Regions from separate parts of the Homo sapiens genome. Here region 1 is linked to region 2. Evidence: promoter capture Hi-C in human tissues and cell types (Jung and others, 2019). All regions are on one chromosome and are shown on one strand. Each heading gives the region's core, a stretch centred on a gene start or on the middle of the fragment in contact. The rest is flanking DNA. Distances are from core to core; before and after follow the strand shown.

The links. Contacts are between HindIII fragments. The study calls those that stand out against the background at their distance.
Region 1: a contact is called between a fragment that was not itself captured here and the fragment with the promoter of SNX32 in region 2, in 3 of the 25 tissues and cell types used here (bladder, lymphoblastoid cells and mesenchymal stem cells).

The regions. Positions count from the first base shown.
Region 1 is chr11:65,937,709-65,944,053 of GRCh38, reverse strand. LOC105369350 (a long non-coding RNA gene) reads left to right here. Exons shown (of 3, transcript XR_950212.3): 2 at 5,575-5,746; 3 at 5,958-6,262. Among named protein-coding and RNA genes, the nearest start is that of TSGA10IP, 4.6 kb to the left of the region's middle. RefSeq lists a silencer at 2,343-2,566 and enhancers at 2,537-3,036, 6,293-6,345. The HindIII fragment of the contact is 3,895 bases long and covers 2,645-6,345 here.
Region 2 is chr11:65,829,661-65,836,410 of GRCh38, reverse strand. It overlaps SNX32 (sorting nexin 32), which reads right to left and starts at 2,448. Exons shown (of 13, transcript NM_152760.3): 1 at 2,310-2,448. The coding sequence starts at 2,345. LOC124902693 reads left to right here and starts at 2,612. Exons shown (of 7, transcript XM_047427980.1): 1 at 2,612-5,113. The coding sequence starts at 2,900. The coding sequence ends at 4,516. RefSeq lists an enhancer at 2,367-2,456 and silencers at 2,381-2,593, 2,767-2,896. The HindIII fragment of the contact is 13,089 bases long and covers 1-5,147 here.

The sequences.
Region 1 (6,345 bases), core at 3,343-5,842, 110 kb before region 2:
AGGGTAGTGGTAAGGATTAAATCACTATGCAGATACAAACAGAACATCCTCATGGCTCATGGGAACTGCTATGTTAGCATTGCTGTTATTCTTATTATCTTTTTTTTTTCTTTTTGTGATGGAGTCTTGCTCTGTTGCCCAGGCTGGAGTGCAGTGATGTGATCTCGGCTCACTGCAACCTCTGCCTCCTGGGTTCAAGCGATTCTCCCACCTCAGCCTCCCGGGTAACTAGGATTACAGGCATGTGCCACCATGCCCGGCTAATTTTTTGTATTTTTAGTAGAGAGAGGGTTTCACCATGTTGGCCAGGCTGGTCTTGAACTCCTGACCTCAAGTGATCCACCCACCTTGGCCTCCCAAAGTGCTGGGATTACAGGTGTGAGCCACTGCACCGGGCCGTGTTGCTGTTATTAATTAATCAATGATGTGGCCCCAGGGAAGCAGACTATCCTGGAAGATGCCATAGAGGCAGGATTTTTCTCAGACTGTGGCCCTGTGGCTCCTCTTCTGCTCTCAGACTCCATCCCAGTGGCACCTCACAATGAGCACATCCAATGTAAATATCCTAAATAGTGCTGCTCCGGGTGAAGCTCTTTTGCCACCCAAAATATGCAAACTCTTTTCTTTCTAGGGGGCTGCCATCCTTCTCCCACACCTGGGGCCCAGTGGAAGGCACATGTAGGCAGCTTCACTTTCAGAAACGGAGCCCCTTCCAGACCTCAACCCCAGGTGATTTCCTGGACAGTCCAGAACTCTGGGCCACTTTCTTCCTTGGCAGAGGGCAGGTCTGGGTTTCTCAGGTTGATATTCTCATGAGGTGCATACAGACCTCTTTCCTTTACCACACTCCCTCCCTAAGTGAGCTCATCCAGTCTGATGGCCTTAAAAGCCACCTGCTGCTTGCTTTCTGAGACAGAGTCTCACTCTGTCACCCCGGCTGGAGTGCAGTAGTGCCATTACAGCTCACTGCAGCCTCAACCTCCCAGGCTCAAGTGATCCTCCCACCTCAGCCACCCGAGTAGCTGGGACTACAGGTACGCGCCACTATGCCCGGCTAATTTTTATATTTTTTGGTAGAGATGGGGTTTTGCCATGTTGTCCAGGCTGGTCTTGAACTCCTGGCCTGCCTCGGCCTCCCAAAGCATTGGGATTACAGGCATGAGCCACTGCGCCAGGCCAGCACCTGCTGTTTTCCACCCGTCCCCAGGTTTACGTATCTCAGCCTGACCTCTCCCATACTTAAATATCCAGTGGCCCATCTGACATCCCCACTTGGATAAATAAGCATTTCAACTTGACATGCTGAAGGTCAGACTACTGGCCTGCCTCATCCCAGTCAGGGGCATGTCTGAGATTCCTGTTGCTCAGGTCAACGCCCTGGCATGATCCTTGACTCTTTCGTTTGACTCACATTCTGCCCCTAATGCCTTAGCAAACCCTACCAGCTCCACCTTTGAAATACATGCAGAATCCAGCACTTCTCCAAACCAACACCCTCTCTCTTCTGGATCATTTCAGTAACGCTTAATCTCCGGCTTTTGCTTATTTATTTATTTTTTATTGACATGGGAGCTCACTATATTTCCCAGGCTGGCCTCGAACTCCTGGCCTCAAGCCATCCACCTGCCTCAGCCTCCCAAAGTGCTGGGATTATGGGCGTGAGCCACCACACCCAACCTCCCGGTTTTTGCTTTTGTCCTGATACCATTCTCTACTCAGCAACCAGTGTGATTCTGTGAAGAATAGAGCCCAGCTGGACGCAGTGGCTCACACCTGTAATCCCAGCACTTTAGGAGGCTGAGGCAGGCGGATGGCTTGAGGCCAGGAGTTCGAGGCCAGCCTGAGCAACATGGCAAACCCCTTCTCTACAAAAAATAATACTAAAATTAGCCAGGTGTGGTGGAGTATGCCTGTGATCTCAGCTACTAGAGAAGTTAAGGTAGGAGGACCACTTGAGCCCAGGAGGCAGAATGAGCCCTGATTGCACCACTGCACTCCAGCCTGGGTAACAGAGCAAGACCTTAACTAAAAAAAAAAAACAAAAAAAAAAAAACAGAGTCCATCACGCCTGTGATGGGTCCTGGGTCTCGCTGAGTAAAAGGCAAAGTCCTTACTGGCCCACTAGGTCCTGCATGTTTCACAGGTGTTTGCTCACAAGTGCCACCATGATCCCTTCTCACTCCGATCCAACCACACTCTCCCTTCGGTACGCCAGCCAGTCTGCCCTAAGGCCCTTTGCACCGACTGTTTCTTCTTCCTGAAATGCTCTCTCCCCAGAATCCACATGGCTTACTCCTTCAGGACCTCTAGGTTTCTGCTAAAATGACACCTGCCAAAGAAGCCCTCCCTGCCCAGATCCCCTAAGTCCCTAATAGGCACCACCATTTGCTCTGCTTCTCTTATCACCGCTTCACACACATTCATTCATTTGCTGATTGCCTGCTCAGCGATGTGGCTCCGGCCGTCCTCCCACTCTCTCCTGCATCAGCAATGTCTCATCTCTCTGGCATCATTTCCATCAGCACTACTGTTCCTTCTTTCTTGACTCACTTCCCCTTCTTCAACACTGCCCCATTTCTGTGTTCCCTTTGCAGCAAAGCCTTCTGAAAGAGTTTTCACTGGGCAAGGTCAATTTCCCCCTTGCCTTTCTTTCTTGAACCCACTCCAGGCAGGCTGTCACCCCCACCACCCTGTGAGCCTGCACCTGCCAAAATCACCGATGCCTTCCCTCCCACTAACATGAGGTCAGTGGCCAGCTCTTCCCCAGCTCCTCTGCCAGTTCCTCCTCCTCTTGCAGGAGAGGGACAGCTGCCCCGTCTGTCTTCTTTGTCCACAGCTACTCTGTTGCCCAGGCTGGAGTGCAGTGGTGAGATCTTGACTCACCACAACTTCCGCCTCCCAGGTTCAAGTGATTCTCCTGCCTCAACCTCCGAAGTAGCTGGGACTACAGGCGCAAACCACCATGCCTGGCTAATTTTTGTATTTTTAGTAGAGACGGGGTTTCGCTATGTTGGCCAGGCTGGTCTCGAACTCCTAACCTCGTGATCCGCCCGCCTCGGCCTCCAAAGTGCTGAGATTACAGGCATGAGCCACCACGCCCGGCCACAGCTCCTCTTTTACTGGACTCACCAGGACCATGGTTTTGTGTTTTTGGGTTTTTGGTTGTTTTTTTTTTTTTTTGAGACAAGGTCTCACTCTGTCACCTAGACTGACTGGAGTGCAGTTGCGTGATCATGGCTCACTGCAGCCTCGACCTCCTGGGCTCAAGTGACACTCCCGCCTCAGCCTCCTGAGCAGCTGGAACTAAAGGTGTGCACCACCATGCCCAGCTGATTTTTTGTATTTTTTGTAGAGACAACGTCTAGCCATGTTGCACAGGCTGGTCTTGAACCCCTGGGCTCAAGAGATCTTCCTGCTTCAGACTCCCAAAGTGCTGGGATTACAGGCATGACAGGCTCATTTTAAATAAAATCTATCAGACAATGAACCCCACTTTTATCTGTAGTCCAGACATCTCCCTCAAGCTCAGAAGGTGAGTCCTGCCTCCCAAACTCGAATGACCCAGTCCACTGCTCCATCTAGGTGTCTAACAGGCATCTCACATTCAACAACTCTGAAACTGACTCCCTGACCCTCCCCACAGCCCTCTCCATCTTGGCCTAGTGACTATGCTATCCTTCTAGTTTCTCGAACCAAAAGCCTAGGCTTTTCTCTCTCTGAAATGCTATGTCCTATCCAACAGTTGTTCCTGATTTCAAAGTGCATTCAGAATCTGAACGCTTACCACCAGCTATTTGGAGCATTCTCAACATCCGTTGTCTTCTACATAGACTTTCTGCTTCTTCATGGTCAATTCCCAACCCAGCAGCCTGGGCCATTTTTTTTTTTTTTGAGATGGAGTCTCTTGTTCTGTCGTCCAGGCTGGAGTGCAGTGGCGCAATCTCGGCTCACTGCAAGCTCCGCCTCCTGGGTTGACGCCATTCTCCTGCCTCAGCCTCCCGAGTAGCTGGGACTACAGGCGCCCGCCACCATGCCCGGCTAATTTTTTGTATTTTTAGTAGAGGCGGGGTTTCACTGTGTTAGCCAGGATGGTCTCGATCTCCTGACCTCATGATCCACCCGCCTCTGCCTCCCAAAGTGCTGGGATTACAGGCGTAAGCCACCGAGCCCGGCCAGCTTGGGCCATTTTTTAAAGACTTCTGCTTAAAACCTGCAATGGGAGCCTGGAGTAGTGGCTCACGCCTGTAATCCCAGCACTTTGAGAGTCTGAGGCAGGAGGATGGCTTGAGCACCGGAGTTTGAGACCAGCCCAAGCAACATGGATAAACCCTGTCTCTACTTAAAATACAAAAAAATTAGCCGGGCATGGAGGTGCATGCCTGTAGTCCCAGCTACTCGGGAGGCTGAGATGGGAGAATTGCTTGAACCCAGGGGGTGGAGGCTGCAGTGAGCCAAGATCACACCACTGCACTCCAGCCTGGGCAACAGAATGAGACTGTCTCAAAAAATAAAATAAAATAAAATAAAATAAAATGAAATACAATACAATAAAATAATAAATACATGTACAGATAGAAAACATCTTTATTGGTTCTTCAGATAATAGAAGTAATATATGCACACTGTCAAAAATTTAAATATGACCAGGTGCAGTGGCTCACAGCTGTAATCCCAGCACTTTGGGAGGCTGAGGCAGGTGGATCACCTGAGGTCAGGAGTTCGAGACCAGCCTGGTCAACATGATGAAACCCCGTCTCAGCTAAAAATACAAAAAAATTACCAGGGTGTGGTGGCAGGCGCCTGTAATCCCAGCTACTTTGGGAGGCTCAGGCAGGAGAATCGCTTGAATCAGGGAGGCAGAGGTTGCAGTGAGCCGAGATCGTACCACTGCACTCCAGCCTGGGCAACAAGAGTAAAACTCTGTCTAAAAAAAAATTAAATCTGTGCAGTAGAACTGCTGTTAACTTTTGGGTGTGTATTTGGCCCGTGTTTTTCCCCTGTGAGCACAAACAAATGTGGAACTGACACCCTGAGCAAGGCGGGGTGCAGCATTCGGACAGAGACAGCTGCATCCTTTTCCACCCACCCACTCCCCCTTGGGCCAAGCCGTTCCCAGGCCTGGATAAGACGTGAGCAGGCACTATGACTTCTCAAGTCACCTCAGGTAGTGAAAAGTCCTCTGATCACTAAGAACAGCCTCAGAAATTGAAATTGAAATGTCTAGTCTGGGCCGGGCGCGGTGGCTCACGCCTGTAATCCCAGCACTTTGGGAGGCTGAGGTGGGTGGATCACTTGAGGTCAGGAGTGTCCTGTCCTCACTGCAAGGGGGCCTGGCACCTGATTAGCAATGCAGGGCCCTGGGGCTATTGCTTTGTCCTTGGCCTCCGATGCAAAACCAAGACCTGAGCCAGTGTACCATTTGAATATCTTGTGATTTTAGAGATAGACGTGTGTGTGTGTGTGTGTGTGTGTGTGTGTGTGTGTGTGTATACAAACCTACATATACATATTTTTCAACAAAAATGAGATCATCCTGGTTTTGCCTACTAGAATGTTATATTCTTTCCATGTCAGGACATACAGAGCCACCCAGTCTTTACCATCATCACTGTTTGGCTGTCTGACCCACCTAATGTACATCACCTGTGTCCTTTTGTCAAACACCGGGACTGCTTCCGCTTGCGTCCTCACTCCAGACACTGCAGCTGCGGACATCCCTGGAAATGTGTCTTGAGATTTCTGCAAGGTAATGTTCTATAAGCAAACTAGCTAGCTCTAAGCCATTTAGATCTTGATGGTGCCTAATTATTCCCCCTAAAGGCTCAATCATTATAGATTTCCATCAACAGTATTTATACCCTCACCAGCAATTATAATTTTCACTTTGCTAATCTGATAGATGAAAAGCTATTATTGCATTGTTGCAATAACTTGTATTCTCTTCTCTTTCATGAAAGGGCCAGATATGCAAGGCAGCTCCCGAATGCTGAAGGAGCAGAGAAACCAAAGAACAAGGCAGACAAATCCAGTTTGCTGGTACAGGGTGATTTATTTGGGTGACCTTACAGACAAGCTTGGTCTTGGGCAGCCACGAGACAAACAGATCTCCGTGCCTGTCATCCTAGAGCCAAGGCTTATGTACCATAGGGAAAGGGTATGAGTGTTCTGTGCAAGACAATTAAAGGCAGCCCTCCAGAACAGGCAAGAATCTGCATACGTTATAGCCTATAATTGGTGTGATAACATCAAGGTGGACATAGTCTTATGCTAAGGGCAGTAAATAGAGTAGGAATCAGGAGGTATTCACGGGACTGCAGCTATTCAGAAGTCAGCATGGCGGATTCA
Region 2 (6,750 bases), core at 1,199-3,698:
CACCACGTCTGGCCAATTTTTTGTATTTTTAGTAGAGATGGGGTTTCACCATGTTGGCCAGGCTAGTCTTGAATTCCTGACCTCAAGTGATTTGCCTGCTTTGGCCTCCCAGAGTGCTGCGATTACAGGCTTGAGCCACCACGCCTGGCCAGTATTTTATATTATTTCATTTTCTCCTCTATTATATTTTTGCTTATATATTCTTTTAATGTCTCTATATTTAAAGGAAGATCTTAGAGAAGGCAACACCTAACCTAGAGGATAAGTACTGGTAGTGAACTTTCAGAGTATGGCTCCTGCAAAGGCTGGGGGGTGCATCCATCTGTTCAATAGCTCAGCACATCCTCAGAACATACAGCAAAAATAATATAACAATAATAATAATATAATAGCTAACCCTTATGTTGGCCCTTACAATATGCTAGGCACCACTCTAACCATTTCATGTATATGCCCTAAGCATTTTATATATGTTAACTCCTTTAACCATGAAGATGAACATACATAGATAAACATTGAAGCAGACCATTCTGTTCCATGCTTTGTGTCTCTCAGCCCCTCTTGCCCCTCTAAACCACTTGAACCCCGCTCCTCATTTCTTGGCTTCTCTGACACTCCCAAGGCAGGCTCTCCCCTTGCCCCAGACCCCAAACACATGCAGTCTGGCTAACTGGTGCAGCAGGTCCCCTAGTCCCCAGCCTCTTTCCTCCTGCCTTAGTATCTCTACTCTGACCTACACTGCTTGGTAGCTGCTTGAGGGAGATGGGCCTCAAAGGTGGACCACAGCTGCTCCATCCTCATCCTCAGCCACGGCCCACTATGCATATGCCTCCATCTCCCAAAAGGGTGCACCTCTCCATGCTCTAACCATCCTTGGCACAACGTGGATGCTCGACAACTCTTTGCTGAAGGAAGTCAAAAGGAAGAAATGGTCTTATCATTACATGAACTCAGAACACAAGTGAAGCCATTAGGGCTGAACAGGATTCTCTCGCCTTGGGAAAGGAGAAGAGGATGCCAGCCTCTGCTCAATCCCTAACATCCTGCCCTCCTCCCCGCCCTCACCTCCCACCCCCTACCCACCTACCCCCATCAAGACAGCCTGAGTTGGTCTTGGGGAGGGTAAGAGTGACAGTGACGGGTCCCTTTCCATCTGTAAGGACAAAGGCAAAACCCTGCCTCCCTTGGCATCCTCATCAGTCCGCACACAGGTGCCACAGAGGCTCCCCACTCCCTTGCTCAAGTCTCCTTTCTCTCACTTGCGCAGACACACACATACACACAGAGACACATGGGCACATACACACACACAGACACACGAGACAAACACAGACACACGCACACACAGACACACATAGAAACACACACAGATACACAGACACACACAAACACACAGGCACAGAGAAACACACACACAGACACACACAACGACATACACAGATCATACACAGGCACACAGACACACACAGATGCACACACAGACACACTGACATAGACACACACAGATATACAAAGACACACGGATACAGACACACACAGACACATGCAAACACACACACAGACCCAGAAATACACAGACACACACACACAGACACACGCAGACCATACACACACACAGAGACACACACACACAGACATAAAGATGCACGCAGACCATACATAGACACAGAGACAGACACACACTCAGACACAAAGAGACACAGACCTGCGCAGACACACACAGGCACATGCGTGCACACACAGATACACACAGAGACACACACAGATGCATACATGCACACATGCAGACCATACACACAGACAGACACAGACACAAAGACACACGCAGACCATACACAGACACAGACACACAGACACACACACACAGACATGCACAGACACACACAGAGACAGACACAGACATGCACGCACAAACACCCACATGGACGCATACGTGCACACACACAGACACACACAGGCCATACACACACACACAGAGACACGGAGACACACAGACACACACACAGATACACAGAGACACACAAAGACACAGACACACACTGAGACACACACAGACACACAGACACACAGAGACACAAATACAGACATACACAGATACACACACACACAGACATATGCAGGCACATCGACATACACACAGACACACAGAGAAACAGACACATGCAGACTATACACACACAGACACACACAGAAACACACAGAGGCAGACCACACACACACAGACACACACACACCACCGCATGATTGGGCATCACGGGCTTTCATGGAGTGAGGGGAGGCTGGGGTGGGGGTCTTCATCCTTTCTCTACCTTGCCCTCCTTCCCAACCTCCGCATACGTCTCCATCGCTCTCCTGGGCTTCAGCGTCCGGCCACTGCCCGCGTGCTCCCGCAGGTCGTCCCCGTAACTCGCCCGAGGAACTGACCGAGTGAGGATGCTCTCAGCTGACGGGGACGCTCTCCCCCGCCCGGCCAAGGAGTCGCCTGGAGTCGGGGGCGGTTCCCACCGCGTTTCCCTCAGCCACGCCTTTCGATTGGGTAGCGGGGCACCGCGCGTGACGCCATTGGCTGCATTGTCTGTCGTTCCTGTCCCAGGCCCCAGCTTTTAAGGGACACGCGGCACGGAGAGTGGGCCGGTGATAGGCGACAGTGTGGGAGCTGGGGTCAGAGTTCATAGGGTCGCAGAGGCCGCGTGCCGCGTCTCCCTCCAGTCCCCGGGGGACTGACCCCCACAACAACCCCGTGCCGCCGTTCCGGGCCCCTCCTTCCAACGGCCACGTGCGGCCTGCGCGTGCGCACTCGCCCAGTTTGGCGCCCACCAGGCAGTGGGGAAGGGGAAGGGGAAGGGGAAGAGGGTGAGGGTGGCAGGGTGGGGACAGGGAATGGGAAGCAGTGGTGGGGATGTGGGTGGTGGACCAGGGGCGAGGGCAGGGGACAATGTCTGTGGAGAAGGGGGGTCTGTTTAGGTTTCCGCTCTTGGACGGGAGGGAGCGGCGGGGTAAGCAGCCTAGGAGGACTAGGGAGCTCCACAAGTCCCGCGGCCAGGGCGCCCCAAGCGAGGCCGGGGTCCGCGAACGGTCGCCACTGGAGCGGGGCTGCAAGGGGGTGCCGATGCTGCGAGAGAAAACCTGGGGACCTTGGAACGGGCTCATGGTAATTGGGAAGAGAGTGGAGCTCCTGACTAGAAACACTCGAAAGCCGAAGCTGGAGTCTGAGTACTGGAGACTGGAAGATGTGGAAAAGACGGTCTTGAAAGGGAAGTCAGGCCCGAGTCAGGAAAGGATGGATGTGAAGCTGCTATACCGTGGAGCAAGTGCATCACAAGCTTCAGCAGATTTGGGGAAAGACAGCCCAAGGGGTATTTGGGGAAAGCAAGAGGTCAAACACGAAATAAAGGCTAAATCTAAGAGTGCAGGGATGACAGCAGGGCCTATGAAGGGGTCTGGGTTTGAAGAGAGGTTGAGGTCTGCTGGGGAGAAGGTAGGGACCAGTGGAGAGGACTTGAGATCCAATGGATATAAACTGGGACAGGATGAGAAGGGGTTGAGGTCTAGTGTAGACAAGATGAGATCAAGTGTAGAGAAGCTGAGGTCTACTAGTGAGAAGCTGGTGTGCAGGGGAGAGAAGCAGGGGTCCAGTGGAGTGAAGCTGAGGTCCAGTGGCAGAAAGCTGAGATCAAGTGGAGAGAATTTGAGATCAAGTAGAGAGAAGCTGAGATGGAGTGGAGAGAAGCTGGGAACTAGTGGAGAGAAGCTGGGAACCAGTGATGAGAAGCTGAGGTTGAGTGGAGAGATGCTGAGATCAATCAGAGAGAAGCTGAGGTTGAGTGGAGAGAAGCTGGGAACCAGTGATGAGAAGCTGAGGTTGAGTGGAGAGAAGCTGAGGTTGAGTGGAGAGAAGCTGAGATCAAGCAGAGAGAAGCTGAGGTTGAGTGGAGAGAAGCTGGGAACCAGTGATGAGAAGCTGAGGTTGAGTGGAGAGAAGCTAAGATCAAGCAGAGAGAAGCTGAGGTTGAGTGGAGAGAAGCTAAGATCAAGCAGAGAGAAGCTGAGATTGAGTGGAGAGAAGCTGGGAACAAGTGATGAGAAGCTGAGGTTGAGTGGAGAGAAGCTGAGATCAAGCAGAGAGAAGCTGGGAACCAGTGGAGAGAAGCTGAGATCAAGCAGAGAGAAGCTGAGGTTGAGTGGAGAGAAGCTGGGGTCAAGTGCGGAGAAGCTGAGATCTAGTGAGGAGAAGTTAGGGACCAGCGGGGAGAAATTGGAGGGTTCAAGAATGGGGAGCATAAATGAGAAGAACATTGAAAAAGTGGTAGAAGTTACTGGCGATGAAAGAGTGATGGCATTTACTCATGATGAGATGGAAATTCCTTTTGAAAGTGTCAAAGGGAGTGAGGAACTACAAGGGACTGAGAAAGGAGTGGGAGTTGAGGGGGGCATCTTGAGTGAAGTGAAAGATATCACTGATGAATCTGTTTCTATGGAAAAAAAAGATATTATAGGTGAAGGTACCAGTGAATGAGGCAGATGAAGGATTGACACCAAAGAAGGAAAGAGGCAGACAGGAGAAGTACTGAAAGTCAGAGGAGAAATTAGAGCCAGACAGAACATTATTGACACTGAAGGGGTAAAGTTGAGAAAGGAAAGGAGAGAGTCTGAGCCTAAAATAAAAGAGAGTGGAAGTGAGGAAAAGAGCTTCTGGGGCTGAAGGCGGAGGCCAGGATCAAAGGAAGCAAAGAGGAGTCTCTGGTTCAGAGGGAAGTGGGAACATATGGAGGAGAAAGAGAAGACTTGGTAATGTGTTGACAGAGGACACTTGGATATTGGGAGAAAAGGTGTGACTGGGAGCTCATAGGGAAATGTTTGAGAAAAGGATGGAGGATGGGCTAGAAGGATTTAGTCTGACACTAAATGGGGTCTATGAGATGGAGAATTGCAGCAGGATAAAGGGTAGATTTTGAGAGTTGTGGAAGAAGGTGCAGACTGAAGTGGGCAAAATTTCTGAAAGAGGAGCCTGAAGAATGAAGGGCTCCCAAGTGACAAAAGCAAGAGAGGAGATAAGAAAGAAGTGAGAAAAAACATAAGAAGCCACGTGCCATAATGGTGATTGTGTTTGTTGGTATGTCCTTCATTATTTCCTTTTCTTTTCTTTTCTTTTCTTTCTTTCTTTCTTTCTTTTTCTTTTTTCTTTTTTTTTTTTGAGACAGTCTTGCTCTGTTGCCCAGGTTGGAGTGTGCAGTGGCGCAATCTCGGCTCACTGCAACCTCTGCCTCCCAGGCTCAAGCGATTCTCCTGTCTCAGCCTCCCAAGTAGCTGGGATTACAGACATGTGCCACCATGCCTGGCTAATTCCCTCACTATCTTCTAACTTCCAAGTATTGCTATTTATAAGTCTTTTTGTTCTTTTCTTTTAATTCTATAGATAGTGTTTTTTTCTATGTAAATTACCTGTTTGCTACCACTCCCTAACTCAACCTGTATCCTCACCCCATTTTCTCTGGCCTTACTAGAGGATGTTAGACCTTGAATTATAGCTGTTATCTTTTTTTCTCCTTTTGCCCGTCTCTTTTTATTGTATTCTCTGGGCAATTTCATTAACTTTAAAACAATTGATGTATAGTAGATGTACGTATTTTGGGGGTACCTGTAATATTTTGATACATTCATATAATGTGTAAAGATCAAATCAGGGCAATTGGGATATCCATCATCTTAAATATTTATCTTTTCTTTATGCCAGGAACATTCGAATCATTCTCTTCTAGTGATTTTGAAATGTACAATAGATTATTGTTAACTACAGTCACCCTACTGATCTATAGAACACTGGGTCCCATTTCTTCCATCTAACTGTACATTTCTACTCATTAACATGTCTTTATTTCCTCCACCCTTCCTGGCCTCCAGTAACCACCAATCTCATCTCTATTTTCATGAGATCCACTTTCAACTTTATTAACTGTATCTTTCTTTCTTATTGAAATTTTACATTTTAACTCTCTTGTTCATTGATTGCTTTTTTTTTTTTTTTTGAGATGGAGTCTGGAGTCTTGCTCTGTCACCCAGGCTGGAGTGTAATGGCGTGATCTTGGCTCACTGCAACCTCCGCCTCCCCGGTTCAAGCAATTCTCCTGACTTAGCCTCCTGTGCTCACTGCATGAGCTGGGATTACAGGAATGCATCACCACACCCGGCTAATTTTTTGTATTTTTAGTAGAAACGGGGTTCCACCATGTTGGTCAGGCTGGTTTTGAACTCCTGACCTCAGGTGATCCACCCATCTTGGCCTCCCAAAGTGCTGGGATTACAGGCGTGAGCCACCGAGCCCGGCCGTGCTTCTTTTTTTATATATAGTATTTCTGTTCTTGTTTCATGAGTCTGTTCTCTTAGCTCTCCAAGGATTTTTCCAGTTTTTAAGTTTTCTTCTGCTTTTCTTATTGTTTCCCCTGAGTTCCCCTCCCCTGCTTCCCCCCGCTCCATTTTTTTTGTGTGTGTATTGTTGGAAGTTTTCCTCAAATGTTTGATCTTCGGCTGTCCATATTTAAGAATGAGGCATTAAGCAGAGGCAATTGGAAGCACAATTTGGGGCTTGTTGATCTATGGGCTTCACTCTGTGGCGACTGAAGCAAGCAGGATATTTTACTGGGTACACCCAAATATCAGAATCTGTAAATCTCACTGAAGGGACCGTCTGGTTTCTACAGAGAATTCTCCAATCTGTCTGGGGGATATCTGCATGGCCCCTGCTATAGAGGT